Linked DNA regions of Homo sapiens: region 1 is linked to region 2. The links are contacts of gene promoters, found by promoter capture Hi-C in human tissues and cell types (Jung and others, 2019). All regions are on one chromosome and are shown on one strand. Each heading gives the region's core, a stretch centred on a gene start or on the middle of the fragment in contact. The rest is flanking DNA. Distances are from core to core; before and after follow the strand shown.

Region 1 (3,035 bases), core at 157-2,656, 650 kb before region 2:
ATCTGCTGCCGCGAGGTGGGGCGCGGGGAGGCGGGAGGCCCGGCGGTGGGGCCAGGATCTGTTCCTCCCCCCGCAGCCCTGGGGGGCGGCCCGGGTGAGCGCGGCGGCCTTATCTTCGGGGCGTCTTTCTTAGGTGAAAGAAAATGGCCCGAACCAAGCAGACTGCTCGTAAGTCCACCGGTGGGAAAGCCCCCCGCAAACAGCTGGCCACGAAAGCCGCCAGGAAAAGCGCTCCCTCTACCGGCGGGGTGAAGAAGCCTCATCGCTACAGGTAGGTCGGGCGGGGGAACAATGGCCCGGCGGTGGCCGGCTTTGTGCGGCAGCGTCCGCTCACTCCTCCCCTGCTCGCTGCAGGCCCGGGACCGTGGCGCTTCGAGAGATTCGTCGTTATCAGAAGTCGACCGAGCTGCTCATCCGGAAGCTGCCCTTCCAGAGGTTGGTGAGGGAGATCGCGCAGGATTTCAAAACCGACCTGAGGTTTCAGAGCGCAGCCATCGGTGCGCTGCAGGTAAGACAAAGGCCTGGAGCCGGGGGAGGGCTGGGCGGTTTCCGCTCCCCGAGTGGGATTAATAGTGCGGCTCTCGTCCTCAACAGGAGGCTAGCGAAGCGTACCTGGTGGGTCTGTTCGAAGATACCAACCTGTGTGCCATCCACGCTAAGAGAGTCACCATCATGCCCAAAGACATCCAGTTGGCTCGCCGGATACGGGGAGAGAGAGCTTAAGTGAAGGCAGTTTTTATGGCGTTTTGTAGTAAATTCTGTAAAATACTTTGGTTTAATTTGTGACTTTTTTTGTAAGAAATTGTTTATAATATGTTGCATTTGTACTTAAGTCATTCCATCTTTCACTCAGGATGAATGCGAAAAGTGACTGTTCACAGACCTCAGTGATGTGAGCACTGTTGCTCAGGAGTGACAAGTTGCTAATATGCAGAAGGGATGGGTGATACTTCTTGCTTCTCATGATGCATGTTTCTGTATGTTAATGACTTGTTGGGTAGCTATTAAGGTACTAGAGTTGATAAATGTGTACAGGGTCCTTTTGCAATAAAACTGGTTATGACTTGATCCAAGTGTTTAACAATTGGGGCTGTTAAGTCTGACCATACATCACTGTGATAGAATGTGGGCTTTTTCAAGGGTGAAGATACAAGTCTTAACCACAGTGTAACTTACAGTTTCCTTTAAAAAAAAAAAAAGTAAACCTGGCAGCTATAGAATACACTATGTGCATTTATAATAGCTATTTTATATATTGTAGTATCAACATTTTTAAATTAAATGTTTTACATTCACAAGTGGTGGGGAGTCTTGTCATTAAGGTGTGTGTAATTTAGAGTCCAGTTGGTTTTCTTCTGACTGCACTTGTTCTCATAGTAGTAAAATGCTATGCGCATTTATACCTTGCATAAGTCCTCATTCTACCACATGTTAACCCTCTAGCTGATAATGCAAACACTAACTGGGGGATTTTATTTATAAGGGCTCTAGAAAAAACGAGTTATTCACACCAGCATCATCTTAACTAACATTCTGAACTAGTTAGTGCAGCTTTTCATTGTGTTGTGTGGTTGGTCTCATAACTAGGTTGAGTTTTTCTCCTCTGCTGAGGAAACAGTACCGAAGTTCTTTTTCTTGTGGCATTTGTATTATAAAAACTTGGTGTGGGGGAGGAGCACAAAACTCCAGCCCACTGAACCTCTGCCAATTAAGATGGTGTTGGGTTAGGTTACATCTGGTTACTGTCCTGGGAAAATCATTTTTATAGAGATGGCCTTCCAAGTGGTTTTAAAATTTACTGAAGTTTTTAGGTCAATTATGTATGTTGACTAAATTTACAAATAAACTTGTTTATCCAACTAAGTGTCCAAAACCTAAATTGAATGTACTAAGTTTTCACATGTCCCATTATCTAGGTCCTTGTATACTAATGTTTTGAACTTAGATCATTTCAGGTGTTGTTTGGTGGATAAAGGAACCTTTTATTTATAAAGATACTGTAGAAAGCATGTGAACAGCTCTCTGCTTGATTAAGATGCCATAATAGTGCTGTATTTGCAGTGTGGGCTAAGACAAAGTATATTAATAAGCTTTTCAGCCCCCCCACTCCCGTTCCGTAGTGTAGAAGCCCACAGGTGTAGAACTCAGTCTTAAACTTCAGTATGAAACCAGTTTCCTTGTGCGATGATGGCCACTAAAGCATAGTACGTGGATGTCAGTGAGACAGCATGAGAGCCAGCAGTCATCAAAGCGTTCCACGTTTGAAGTTAGCAACTGCTTAAAGTTATACCCCATTAAAATTGCTTTCTCAAAAGTTTGGGTTAGTTTCAAATGTGATATTTTGGAGGGAAGGTAAAGTAGGTATCTTTCAGGTCGTGATAATGAGCTCCTATGAAAGGATGCAATATAATGACCCGCTTTTCTAGAAAGTTCATAATCAGCTCTGGAACAAGCACACTTGATTCCTCACTGTGCTTCAGAATGAGATTAAGATCAGATGTTGGAACGTGCTATGCTGTAGCGTGTCTGGAAACAAAGTACACAAACCTGGCTACGGTGATGAGTTAGCTTCTGCTTACTACCTGTGACAACCCAAGTGGGTGACACTAGTGAACCTTCTCCAGTCTGCAGGCTGGCATAGAAGGCTCTTAGATTATATTGGGCAGCTTGCAATCTGCCGAAGCAGTGACTTGCATTTCCACACTTGGCTTGAGCACTCAACCCAGAAGGCGAAGATAGCTTTTGGTTGTAGGCGGCTTCCTGTATGGGATATCCCTCGGTAAGGGTAAAGGAGCAGAGGCAAAGGAGAAAAGCAGAAGTTGCAGCTGATGCAGGTATCCTATGCCCTTGATGGATGAGACTAAAATAAAATTTTTGAAGTTAAGATTTTCTCATTTCTCAATGGTTTTCATTCAAATGATAATGTCTTTCAAAAAGTTTGGGGCAATGTCCAAAAAGCACTGACTTCTGATTCATCTGGGGCTGGGACGTGCGCATTCAATAATAAGGAAGCTCCCTATTGAGGTGACCTCAGT
Region 2 (2,897 bases), core at 351-2,850:
CTCAATTTCCTGGGCTCAAGGGTTCCTCCCACCTAAGGCTCATGAGTAGCTAGGACCACAGGCATGCGCCACCATACCCAGCTTATTGATTTGTTTATTGTAGAGACAGGGTCTCCCTGTGTTGCTCAGGCTGGTCTTGAACTCCTGGGCTCAAGCTGTCTCCCACCTGGGCCTCCCAAAGTGCTGGGATTACCAGCCTGAGCCACGGCGCCTGGCTTTATAGTTTGTAGGCAAATAGATTTGAGTGGAGTCAGGAAGTTTCATGACATCCACAAAAAGAAGAGTCAACAAAATGTATCACAGTTCAGCATGTTCTTTTTTTTTTTTTTTTTTTTTGAGAAGGAGTTTTGTTCTTGCTGCCCAGGCTGGAGGGCAATGGCATGATCTCGGCTCACCGCAACCTCTGCCTCCTGGATTCAAGAGATTCTCCTGCCTCAGCCTCCCGGGTAGCTGGGATTACAAGCATGTGCCACCACGCTAATTTTGTATTTTTAGTAGCGACAGGATTTCTCCATGTTGGTCAGGCTGGTCTTGAACTCCCGACCTCAGATGATCCGCCCGCCACGGCCTCCCAAAGTGCTGGGATTATAGGCGTGAGCCACCGCACCTGGCCCTGTTCAGCATTTTCTAGACGGGAGTAGGTAAGCGATGTCAGTTCCACATAAAGTCCTGAGGACAGTCCTGATTACCTGTGCTTGATCAAAATCATCTTTCCGGGGGAAACCACACTTGAAGCTCCCATGTTTCAAGCCAACTCTAGTGTGAATTAGTCTCTTAACGAGCTAGACTTACACAAACCAGTTAACAGATTCATTTCACTTTGTAGTCCTCGAGGGATTGTTCCTGCTCCACTGCACAGACGAAAGCAATCCACTGAGACCACGGTACTGCGGTAATAAGACTTTGGCCAGGTGCGGTGGCTCAAGCCTATAATCCCAACACTTTGGGAGGCCAAGGCAGGCAGATCACTTGAGGTCAGGAGTTTGAAACCAGCCTGACCAACATGGCGAAACCCCGTCTCTACTAAAACTACAAAAATTAGCCAGGCGTGGTGGCGGGTGCCTGTAATCCCAGCTACTCGGGAGGCTGAAGCAAGAGAATCGGTTGAACCCGGGAAGCGGAGGCTGCAGTGAGCCGAGATCGCGCCGCCACTGCGCCGCAGCCTGGGCGACAGAGCCAGACTCCGTCTCAAAATAAAAAAAAAAAAAAAGAAAAAAAGAAAAAAAATGTGGAGCTAGCCCCACGGGTTTAGGACCCTTGACTCCTCGTTAGATGCTTCCCAGTATTTCAGAGCATCCCTTTGTTGGGCCCCCGGAAGGTCGGTCCCCTACTAGTAACGTGGGGTGAACGGGGGTACGTCTGCCGTAAAGTGGGAGGCGGCTGATGGGGACAAAGGCTGGGTCCCGAAGAAGCGCAGGGTCAGAAAAGTGCCCCCCAAAGCCGTCCCTGCACCCGAACCCTAGGATGGCCTCGCGCAACCGCAGGGCCGTCGGCACTGGTTTACGACCTGGGCGGGGCGGCCCGGACACTCTATGCAAATCAGCCCGGCGGACTCCGGAAGCAGCGCTCCCTCCGCTTCCGGCCGAGCCCGCGCCCCCCAGACCCCGAGAGCTCGCAGCTCCGGCCCGGCGGCGATGGCGCGGAGCGTGCGCGTGCTGGTGGACATGGACGGCGTCCTGGCCGACTTCGAGGCCGGCCTCCTGCGGGGCTTCCGCCGCCGCTTCCCTGAGGAGCCGCACGTGCCGCTGGAGCAACGCCGCGGCTTCCTGGCCCGCGAGCAGTACCGCGCCCTGCGGCCCGACCTGGCGGTAGGGGGCGCAGGGTCCCCACCCGGGCAGGGCCCGCTCGCTCCGTTCCGGGGGTCTCCCCCTTCTCTGTGAAGGGCGCAGAGCTCTCACCCTGGAACCCGCGGGCAGCGCACCCTGGGGAGGAGCCTTTGGGCGCGTGCCCCTGACCGACGCCCCCTCCGCCCCTCTGAGCTCGGGCCCGGAGCCCCCAGGAGCCTCCCTGCGGGTCCTCGCGGGAACGGGAAGCCGGGACCCAGAACTCTTGTCTTTCAGGATAAAGTGGCCAGTGTGTACGAAGCCCCGGGCTTTTTCCTGGACCTGGAGCCCATCCCGGGAGCCTTGGACGCTGTGCGGGAGATGAACGACCTACCGGAGTAAGGAGAGAGGGGGGCGGGCGGAGTCCTGGGCGGGCTCCTGGCTCCCGGCGGTAACCGCGTCCTTCTCCGCAGCACGCAGGTCTTCATCTGCACCAGCCCCCTGCTGAAGTACCACCACTGTGTGGGTGAGAAGGTGTGGCTGCCCCGCCCCTACTCCGCACGTGGAGCTGCCTAAATCCTGATTTTAAAAAGAAACCACCAGAAACCCAGAAGGTGGGGGTGGGGGGCTCTCAAGGGCTTAGAGCCAAGTCCCTATCCCTGAATTCCGGCTTCCATCAGGCCCTACTCACAGACTGTGTTTTCTACACAGTACCGCTGGGTGGAGCAGCACCTGGGGCCCCAGTTCGTAGAACGAATTATCCTGACAAGGGACAAGACGGTGGTCTTGGGGGACCTGCTCATTGATGACAAGGACACAGTTCGAGGTTGGACCCGTTATCCTTGGCAGCCTCCAGGCCTCTGGCCTGCCCGGATTAGGGAGAGGGAGTAATAATACCCATGACAGATGGCAGCGCGCTGTCTTTCACTGTCCTAGGCCAGGAGGAGACCCCAAGCTGGGAGCACATCTTGTTCACCTGCTGCCACAATCGGCACCTGGTCCTGCCCCCGACAAGGAGACGGCTGCTCTCCTGGAGTGACAACTGGAGGGAGATCTTAGATAGCAAGCGCGGAGCTGCGCAGCGGGAATGAGCGGGGATGCCGCGGGCAGCAGCTGGAGCTAAAGGAAGGGCAG

The links. Contacts are between HindIII fragments. The study calls those that stand out against the background at their distance.
Region 1: a contact is called between a fragment that was not itself captured here and the fragment with the promoter of NT5C in region 2, in 1 of the 25 tissues and cell types used here (dorsolateral prefrontal cortex).

The regions. Positions count from the first base shown.
Region 1 is chr17:75,776,283-75,779,317 of GRCh38, reverse strand. It overlaps H3-3B (H3.3 histone B), which reads left to right. Exons shown (of 4, transcript NM_005324.5): 2 at 134-271; 3 at 355-508; 4 at 595-2,884. The coding sequence starts at 144. The coding sequence ends at 723. Among named protein-coding and RNA genes, the nearest start is that of H3-3B, 2.0 kb to the left of the region's middle. RefSeq lists a silencer at 1-218 and enhancers at 1-451, 2,730-2,819. The HindIII fragment of the contact is 5,666 bases long and covers 1-3,035 here.
Region 2 is chr17:75,130,445-75,133,341 of GRCh38, reverse strand. NT5C (5', 3'-nucleotidase, cytosolic) reads left to right here and starts at 1,600. Exons shown (of 5, transcript NM_014595.3): 1 at 1,600-1,808; 2 at 2,061-2,161; 3 at 2,237-2,297; 4 at 2,475-2,589; 5 at 2,700-2,897. The coding sequence starts at 1,635. The coding sequence ends at 2,854. RefSeq lists silencers at 1,438-2,007, 2,377-2,581 and an enhancer at 2,618-2,707. The HindIII fragment of the contact is 10,965 bases long and covers 1-2,897 here.